Regions from separate parts of the Homo sapiens genome. Here all the other regions are linked to region 2. The links are contacts of gene promoters, found by promoter capture Hi-C in human tissues and cell types (Jung and others, 2019). All regions are on one chromosome and are shown on one strand. Each heading gives the region's core, a stretch centred on a gene start or on the middle of the fragment in contact. The rest is flanking DNA. Distances are from core to core; before and after follow the strand shown.

The links. The method cuts DNA at HindIII sites, captures the fragments that hold promoters and counts their contacts. A contact is called where the count stands out against the background at its distance.
Region 1: a fragment that was not itself captured here is called in contact with the fragment with the promoter of CCL20 in region 2 in 1 of the 25 tissues and cell types used here (heart right ventricle).
Region 3: a contact is called between a fragment that was not itself captured here and the fragment with the promoter of CCL20 in region 2, in 1 of the 25 tissues and cell types used here (heart left ventricle).

Annotation. Positions count from the first base shown.
Region 1 is chr2:229,432,321-229,435,765 of GRCh38, forward strand. All of the region lies in intron 8 of DNER (delta/notch like EGF repeat containing), which reads right to left. Among named protein-coding and RNA genes, the nearest start is that of PID1, 160 kb to the left of the region's middle. The HindIII fragment of the contact is 3,048 bases long and covers 521-3,445 here.
Region 2 is chr2:227,812,568-227,815,788 of GRCh38, forward strand. CCL20 (C-C motif chemokine ligand 20) reads left to right here and starts at 1,275. Exons shown (of 4, transcript NM_004591.3): 1 at 1,275-1,420; 2 at 2,887-3,001. The coding sequence starts at 1,345. The HindIII fragment of the contact is 20,627 bases long and covers 1-3,221 here.
Region 3 is chr2:229,164,076-229,167,378 of GRCh38, forward strand. All of the region lies in intron 1 of PID1 (phosphotyrosine interaction domain containing 1), which reads right to left. Among named protein-coding and RNA genes, the nearest start is that of PID1, 110 kb to the right of the region's middle. The HindIII fragment of the contact is 8,857 bases long and covers 1-3,303 here.

The DNA.
Region 1 (3,445 bases), core at 795-3,294, 1.6 Mb after region 2:
TTCATTATGGGATGCACAAAGATGGGTGCTGGGGCCAGCAAAGGCAACAAATGGGTGGGAGGGGGGAAAATCAAAGACTAAGACTCTATTATGGCACTTTGAAGAGAAAATAAAACCTAGATAATTACTTTTACACAAGTATGCATACTAACAAAGAGAAATTTTAAACGGTATAAAAGTATAGAAGAGTTTTAAAATGTTTATTTCCTTTTAATTTATTTCACAATCAATTGGTTAAATTTGGTTTAGTTGACCTCTTAGTTACTAATAGACATTCATTTGAGGTATCCGCACTCATCACACTTGGGTCTCAGTGCAGTCCCCAGACCAGCAGCATCAACACCACCTGGGAACTAGTTAGAAATGCGTGTTCTCAGGTCACACTCAAGACCCGCTGATTCAGGGACTCTAAGGGTAGGGCCCAGAACTCCATGACTTAAACCCTCTAACATGGTTCTGATGAGCACTCAAGTTTGAGAGCCACTAAGCTATAGAATAGAAAAGTATACAACGTCTCCCACAATCTCTGACTCTCACAAATGCGGGGAAATGGTAGGGGTTGTCCAAGGAAAATGCTACATATAGTGTGGTTATGGGATTTTTTGTGTTTTGTTGTTGTTGTTGTTGTTGTTGTTTTGAGATGGAGTTTCACTCTGTCGCCCAGGCTGGAGTGCAAAGGCGCAATCTAGGGTCACTGCAACTTCCGTCTCCTGAGTTCAAACAATTCTCCTGCCTTAGCCTCCTGAGTAGCTGGGATTACAGGTGCCTGCCACCGTACCTGACTAATTTTTGTAATTTTAGGAGAGACAGGGTTTCACCATGTTGGTCAGGCTGGTCTCGAACTCCTGACTATGTGATCCGTCCGCCTTGGCCTCCCAAAGTGCTGGGATTACAGGCGTGAGCCACCGTGCCCAGCCGGTTTTGTATTTTAACAGCCATGGCATCTCCTAAGCGCGTTTAACTAATCCAACCGCAAAACATATGGTCAGAACATGTACCAGCTATGGGCATATAAATAAACCAACAGTGAAACATATAGTCAAATGATCTACCAGCCATCGGCACATGGACTAAAGGAAGCTACCCTCCTCTCGAGGTTTACATAAGGGAAAAAAGTAACACAAAGGAATCCCAAAGTGACAACAAATGACGTATTGGAAAAGAAAGGCCAGAATGAGGGAAAGTAATAAGGATATAGCTGTGGCACAATGTGTTCTAGTTCCTCACTGTATGACTAGGAGTCACACATGCCTAAGCGGAATGAGGATAAACAAGTTCATATTCAAATTCGTGAGGGCAATTTTTCCCACATCTCTGATCTAGCTTCCTTAACCCACAGGAATAATATTTTTGCAGAAAGGAATGTCAGAAAATGGAAGATATTAGAAGTATTTAATACAGCACCAAGATTAAGATTTTGAGTAACATACAGACCAGTAGGTAATATTAAAAATAATATTATAGTTTTGTAAAGATTAAGTGTGTTTCAAATTGACTATCATATACTAGACATTTGTGAATTAGCTTTTTGCATTCCTAATTATCTTGCCGAAAATTTGCTCTGAAGGTAATTTATGTTGCTTATCTTTTAAAATATATTTTGAATAAAACATAAAAGCTCTACTTTAAAAAGGAAAGAAAGAAAAAAGCATAAACAATCTAAGGTAACAATTTTTGCAAACCAAAAATTGGGAACCATGATCTGACAAAGTTGCGCTGTTTCCAATTATATATCAGAGGTGGCCTCATAGATACATAGTTTGGTAGCAAAGTATTTGTGTGATGGAAAACAAAATACTGTGACTGGGATTATTCCAGAAAATTTTGGTACACGGAGTCCACAATGCAGACCACGATTATCTTTCTGGCTGTATTTACTTTCATTCCCCTATCACTGGGGACATTCACAGGCACAATGCAATCGTGTCATCCTCTAAGCTTTCTATTAGTCATTGCCATTCTCGAGTAAATATGCTAAATCCTAAATATTGTTAAACACCAGGGAAATTTCTCATGATCCTTTAAGAACAGTTTTAGAAGCACACACCTTCCACTTGGCCACTATCCCTAAGGGCTACAAATGCCCAAGGGCTGAAGCTGACAGTCAGGACTTCAGCTAAAGAATTTCATGGGGAAATTCAGCCTTGATGCAACTGGATTACAAAGAAAATTTCAAAATGTAAATAAATCAGAAATGACAACTCAATTATATGAGTAAATTCTGAATTCTCTTCCAACTTTCTTTATTAAATTAAGGATGCCTAAACACACAGCATTTGTTCATTTAAGAGTTGATAAAGCAGTGAAAAATCAGAAGTGTGTTTTTATTTGGTGACTTAAGATTCTAGGAGAATATATATGTTAATAACCTGAAGGGAAAAATGAAACTTCTTTGAAATAAAGCCAGGAACAAGGCTCAATCTATATGGAATTATGAGGTAAGTAAAGAAGTTTTCTCCTAGACATTCCTTATCACTTGAGTAGGCAAGTTCAGGGGACCTCACCATTTCTTTTCAAGCAACCAAAGATTAAACACTGTTTTTCAACTTTCTTTCTCCTCAAATCTGCTTACATATATAGAGACAATTTATATATATATATATATACACACACACACACACACACACACGTGCACACACACACACAGACACATCACATCACATTCTTCACATATTTAGGTTTAAGGTTATGGTAGATTGAAAAAAAAATAGCTACAAGTTCTGTGCAGCTCCTCCTATCAAGAAACAGAGTCTATAAGCTTGGCCCTGTGACTTGCTCATGCCACTGGGACATTGGCAAACAACAGAAGAAGCAGCTTTAAAGAGAGCATGCATATGGGACCTTGTGTTCTGTTGCTGCTTTCGGAACCCTACAATCGTGGGAAGAAGCCCCGACTGGTCTGCTGGATGAAGAGAGACATGTGGCTTAGTTGCCCCCATCACTCCAGCTAACTGCCAGCAATATAAGAGGGGTCATCCAGGACCCGGCAGTCCCCAGCTGGCTTGCCAGCTGACCACAAAAGCATGAGTGGGCACATGGAATAGAGAAGAGACATCCCAGCTAAACCCTGCCCAAATTATCAACCCACAGAATCACAAACAATAAGTGGTTTTCTTAAGCCATCAAGTCTTGGAATGTTTTGTTACACAGCAATGACTAACTAATACAAAGGTTGATTGCCAGGTACAATGTCTAACTTAAATAAATAAAACCACAAAGATAAACTTTTAGGCATCAGAGACCTGGTAAAAAAGGTATTTTTACGGAGTAGTAAAGAGGAGTCTTCTCAAAATAGTACCACCAGGTACTACATATTCCTTAGTTTAGACCTACTTTAATTGGGCTTATCCAATCTAAAAGCAACACCTACTAATGAATTGAACCTAGGACATTCACTCTGATCTGAGGCATCAGAAACCATCTGGTAGAGTAAAATTGAAACATG
Region 2 (3,221 bases), core at 25-2,524:
AGCTACTCAGGAGGCTGAGGCAGGCGAATCGCTTGAACCCAGGAGGCGGAGGTTGTAGTGAGCCGAGATGGTGCCACTGCACTCCAGCCTGGGCAACAAGAGCAAAATTCTGTCTCAAAAGAAATTATAATAATAAAATAAAATAAAATTTCCTATTCTTCCCTTCAATTCTGTCAGTTTTTGCTTTCTGTAGTTTGGGGTGCTACTGTTAGGTATATATATGGTTATAGGTTTTACATCTTCCCAATGGGTTAATTTTGTGTTACCATGAAAGTCCCTTTTTATTTCCGGTAACATTAAAAAAAAATCTATTTTGTCTGATATAGGCATCACCAACTCCAGTTCTCTTTTGTTTACTGTTTGGTATACCTTTCTTTTGATCCTTTTACTTTCAACCTATTTGGGTCTAGTGGAGAGTTCTTATACTGCCTTAGGTTAGGGATTCATATTACATTATCATCATTAGTACTGTTATTTGACATTTGCTGTGCTGACTAGCTACTGCTGATAGGTTTTCTTTCCTCAACAATTCTGAGGCTCTATATTGAGTTATATTAGTACATCATCATGGAGAGTTAAAGGTAGGTAAGGATTATTTTCTGAACTGCAATATTGATTAAAGCCATGTGAATGTATAAGATTCTTAGAAGAGTTGACATTAAATCAAGGTGAAGCTGAGGTTTGAGCCTTACTTAAAGGCTGATATTTTCCACTCTAACTGCGGACAGTACTGTAGCACTGTTATAGTACCTGCTCTGAATGTTAGTCTAGCAACTCAGGGTCTTCTTCATGACAGCTGAACCTCAACCATGTGATGGTAAATGTGTAGCAGAGTATGCCTGGCATCCCACCTGCTCCTCCTCCCCCTCCTCCTTGACTGGTTCTGGAAAGCAAATAGGGTGTAACAATAGGAGTTCTGGAATGTTCCTGTGTGGGGCTGACCTTTGTATCGCTGTTAATCCTCTATTTTCAGACACAAAAATGATTAAGTTAAAACTGGATGAAAGTCTTTTCTGGGTCACAGGGCTGAGCTGCTTTTGCTCTTTGCAAATACAAAGAATTTAACAGGATTCTCCCCTTCTCAACTTCCTGTCCCCCACCCTGACCTTCGCACCTTCCCAATATGAGGAAAAAGCAGGAAGTTTTCCTTGCGGGTTTTTTTTATGATGACATGATGGGGCCAGTTGATCAATGGGGAAAACCCCATGTGGCAACACGCCTTCTGTGTACATTCCCAATATTTGCTATAAATAGGGCCATCCCAGGCTGCTGTCAGAATATAACAGCACTCCCAAAGAACTGGGTACTCAACACTGAGCAGATCTGTTCTTTGAGCTAAAAACCATGTGCTGTACCAAGAGTTTGCTCCTGGCTGCTTTGATGTCAGTGCTGCTACTCCACCTCTGCGGCGAATCAGAAGGTAAGTGTCGCTCTTTCCGCTAGCACAGAAGAAAGACTATTTTCATTTTCCTTTTAGCCTTGAGCTCAACTGGGGGTCCCTAAGGGATGGAAAACTGTTAGGAAGTATACAAGAGGTAGTGATGGAAGTTGTCTGCCCATGGTGGAGTGGAGGAGAGAAGAGTTACTGCTGCGGATCAGGCTTTCCTCTCTGCTGTCAATCTCAGCAGATTTGGGGAGTGGTGGGCTCTTAGAGATCCCTAAACTTCAGGATAAAGCCAAAGTGATGTTTCTGGGAGTGATATAAAGTGTGTAATGTTACCAGTAGATGGGGCCATTTTGAAATGTAGAGAATCCTCCTGTGTCCCCAACTTTCGTACCTCCCAACTTAATAGTTTTGGTAAAGTTCAAAACTCATCCTTTAGAAGTAGATTATAATACCTGACATCAACATCCCCACAAGGCATGGGGGACATTGCTTGCCAACTTTAAAATAACATTAATCCCTTACCTTACAGCATGTTGTAATCTGACTCGGGAATGTCCAAGTATTGCTTTATTGCTCAATAGTCACACAACACTTTTAGCAACAGGTGCATTCCTAAAAATGCACATTGAATTTTTTTTTTTTTCTGAGGCAGGGTCTAACTTCATCACCCAGGCCAGAGTGCAGTGGCATGATTACAGCTCACTACAGCCTCAACCTCCTGGAGTCAAGTGAACCTCCAGTCTCAGCCTCTTGAATAACAGGGACCACGGCCGTGTGCCACTCACCTGGCTAATTTTTTTACATTTTTTTTTTTTTTGTAGAGACAGGGTTTCACTGTGTTGCCCAGGCTGGTCTCGAACTCCTGGAGGCAAGCAATCCTTCCTCCTTGGCCTCCCAAAGTGCTGGGATTACAGGCATGAGCCACCATGCCCAACCACATGTTGAACTTTTATGAACAAAATTAAACATTCCTATTAATTAATAGGACAATTTCAAAGTGTTTTCACTCCTATAAATCATATTTCCCTTTGTAGCTCTATTTCTCAATACTTAGTAGCCAGATAATAGATTAAAATCTGCCAATTTATTCATTTTCTGCTTTTGGAAGTTTATCTACATAAGGGTTCCTTCAAGCAGTAGGGAAGGGGCTGCTCATATTCTTGAATGATTATAGTGAACTGAAATGAAATATTGTCAATTTGTATTTCTTACTGAAGATATCCCACTTATGAGAAGTCCTGTGTTTCTCAATTCTATTATTGAACCAAAACTTCTCGGCACACAAACTGTTTTTTCAAAGAACTGTAAACTATGTTAGATTGGTTCTCAACGACCTTACAAAGGTTTCCAAGACATTGAAACTCCTCCTCTAAGTGGTTTATTCGTCATATACATGAGATTCACTAGATTTTTCACAACTTAAGGTAGTTTTATAATACCAATCACAGGATAAGTTTATTCATGTGGATCCAATACCTTTCACTTTTTTTTTTTTTTAGCAGCAAGCAACTTTGACTGCTGTCTTGGATACACAGACCGTATTCTTCATCCTAAATTTATTGTGGGCTTCACACGGCAGCTGGCCAATGAAGGCTGTGACATCAATGCTATCATGTAAGTTATTAATTGATTTTAATTCAGTTGTATCAGGAATACCTAGAAACTTCAGTTTTAAAAATGTTTGCCTTTTTAGAGTTTCATTCAGAAATTACTGATGTTTTGAACATAAGATCTTATTTTAAAGAGAAAGAAATGATGTGGCAAAGATAGCTTTGTCTTAGTACATATCTACTTTAAAGTTCACTTTAAACAGGACTGGAATAAGGCAAAACCT
Region 3 (3,303 bases), core at 303-2,802, 1.4 Mb after region 2:
TTATTGACCTAGGGGCTTTCCTCTGCAACTGGCCATGGTCTCTGCCTGCCCTCCTGCCAACTTTCTCGTTTATACTAAACACCATTTGCTATTTTTATAGTCATTGTATGCCTTACCAAATTCACTCCCATACATTACTTGCTTGTCCCTTTTAGGCATTTGAATTTGCAACCCCTGATGTAAAACGCCAAATGCTAGGAGCACAGAACAAAAATTTCACCTACTCATGAAAAAAAAAAAATTCAAGTATAGCTGAATTGACTCCTACCTGTATTTAAATTATGAAAATTGAACTAAGAGGGTGTGAGTCAGTGAATGATAGAATAATAATATAACACAATATAAACAGGTCAACATGTCTGTCTGTCATTGCACTCAATGAGGATGGGACATGAACAAGTACTTAGAAATCTGCTCTTCTCTGAGTTATTCCCACATGCCCCTTGTGGTGTGAGTATCTTGTTGCACTGAATACAATTAAAATGCTAACAATCAATATTGTTTACTTCCACTTTTAATCAGGATGAATTAACATGAACAGGGATGACCCTCCTACTTAAAACAACCAGAAGTTAAGAAACAACAGTTTGTGACCCTGGGTATGAAGCAATGAAGGACAGTGGCCCCTGAGAGATGTGAAACAAATGAGGTAAGATGTACACCTGCCCAGCTTCCTGCCTTGAAACAGTTTGCAGGCTGCAGAGCAGGGAGGAGAAACACAAGCAGGGTGCAGCGGAATCCCTGAGCTAAGGAGACAGAGATGAAAGCCTGGGGGGACAAACAAGAGAAGAGAACTTCACAGAGAGAGAATTCTGTAAATTTTCAGAGGGTCTCCTTAAATATTCAGCTGACTACTGATCAGCATATGCATAAAAGGAAACTCAAGGCTGGACAACATCCACTGGAAAGAATAAGAGGTTAGAGTGCTGGTGCTCACACAGGGCCAGTTACATTGCCTGCTCGCATCAGCCAGACTGAAAAAACTCATGAGTCACAGAGCAATGAGTAGAGAAATAAAGAAGTTCTAGTGCCACTAGTGGGGAAATTAGCACTAGACTACATGTTGCTCTGGTCTCACCTACAAATCTTAAAAGGAAGATTCAAAGGATCAGATTGCTTCCAAGTAATTTAACAGAATCTAACAACAACAAAAAGTTGAAGAATATAGGAATACAAAAATATCCAGTATCCAATAAGGTAAAATTTAAATGACCTAACATCCAATCAAAAATCACCAGACAAGGCCGGGCATGGTGGCTCATGCCTGTAAACCCAGCACTTTGGAAGGCTGAGACAGGCAGACCGCTTAAGCTCAGGAGTTCAAGACCAGCCTGGGCAAGATGGTGAAACCCCATCTTTACTAAAATTACAAAAAATTAGCCATAGTTCCAGCTACTTGGGAGGCTGAGGTGGCAGGATCACTAAGCCCAGGAGTTCCAGGCTGCAGTGAGCTATGATCAAGCCACTGCACTCCAGCCTGGGTGACAGAGCGAGACCCAGTCTCAAAAATAAAAAAAAAAATTGTCAGACATGAGACATGCAAAAATGGAAGAAAATAAAATCCATGAGGGTTAATAAACCAGTTAATGAAAGCCTACCCAGAACTGACAACAATGTTATAATAAACAGGCAATGACCTTAAAACTATATTCAATGTTACACTGATGGTTTTAACCAGTGCAATAAGGCAATAAAAAGAAATAATAAGACTCCATATTGGAAAGGAAGAAGTAAAATTGTCTTTATTCATAGAAAATTTGATTATCTTTGTAGACAATCCAACAATTCTTTTAGATAACCTAAAAAAAAGCAAACTACTAGAATGGATGAGTTTAGCAAAGTTGAAGGACACAAAATCAATATACAAAATTCTATTGTTTTCTATTGTCTAGCAATGAAAAATTAGCAATGACAGCAGATGTCCTTATAAAAGACTTGTACACAAATGCTCACAGTAGCTATATTTTTAAGAGCAGAAAATTAGAAACAACCTAAATGTTTCTCATCAAGCGAATGGACAAACTGTGGTATATCCACACAATGGAATGCTCCTCAACAAAGTGAAAAGGAATAAACTACAGATGCACACTACAACATAAATTATAAAACAATTATCCTGAGAACACAAACAAAAAAAGAGAACATACTGTATGATTCCATTTATATAGCATTGTAGGAAATAGATCAATGGATAGTGACTGAGAGGAGATCAGTTGTTGCCTGGGGATAGTGAGGAACGAAGAGAGGAGAGTGAGGTACATGAAGAAAGCTTTGTGGCGATGGTCTCATGCAGGTTTACAAATATCCAAACCTACCAACTTGTGCACTTTACATATGCATGGTTTATTATATGTCGAGTATACCTCATTAAAATTATTTTTCAGAGAAAAAATAGTTTCAAGTAATATGGCCCTTTAATTCATTCAAATGGCTTCATCTGATTGCTCAATGCTAGAGGGAAAATTTGCTGAGTGGAACAGACTAAGAAATAAATTCTGACCTCTAACATGGTGCCTTCCTAAGAGATTCCCAAGTAAAATTTTGACTCTACATGATTTTAATCTCCATGCTGACTTTGAAACTGAACTGTTGCATTGATATTACTCCCTATGAAATTAATAGTCAATGTCCTTCTCCTTGGATAAATGGCTAATTCTAGGACTGGGGCAAGAAAAGCAAAAGATGATCCCAGGGCATCTTGTTGAGCTAGAAATGAAGATAGTGCTCATAAAATGATGAGGACTTGTCGGATGAACGCTGGGAATAACCTGAAATAGCTCTCAACTTGGCCAACATTAGACAATTTCAGTAACAATAAATAATGGTTGTAATGGATTATAACCCTAGACTAAAAAAAATATCAATGAACAGTACTGAAAAGAAAAGAAAGGAAGGGGAAGGGGAAGGGGAAGGGGAAGTGGAAGGGGAAGGAAAGGAAAGGAAAGGAAGGGAGAGAAAAGGAAGGAAGGAAAGAAAGGGAAAGAAGAAAAGAAGAAACGAAAGAAGGGAGGAAAGAAGAAACTCATCCTTACAGTAAAGTTATACTTTTATAAATATAGAAGAAATTATCAAAATCTAAAGTTACCATATTGCAAACACTATAGCAATGTTTCAGGCATGAATCATTGTTTAAGGCTAAAATTAGTGGGCTAAATATGATGAGAATGAAGATATTTATATTGTCTCAAAGAATCTTTCCAGAAGATAATTATTTTACAAAGAGAACTTTACTTTGGCAAAACCTGGCAGACATTACCTTGACTAAGTGACCAAAATAACCATCTCTAACAATGAGAAATATTG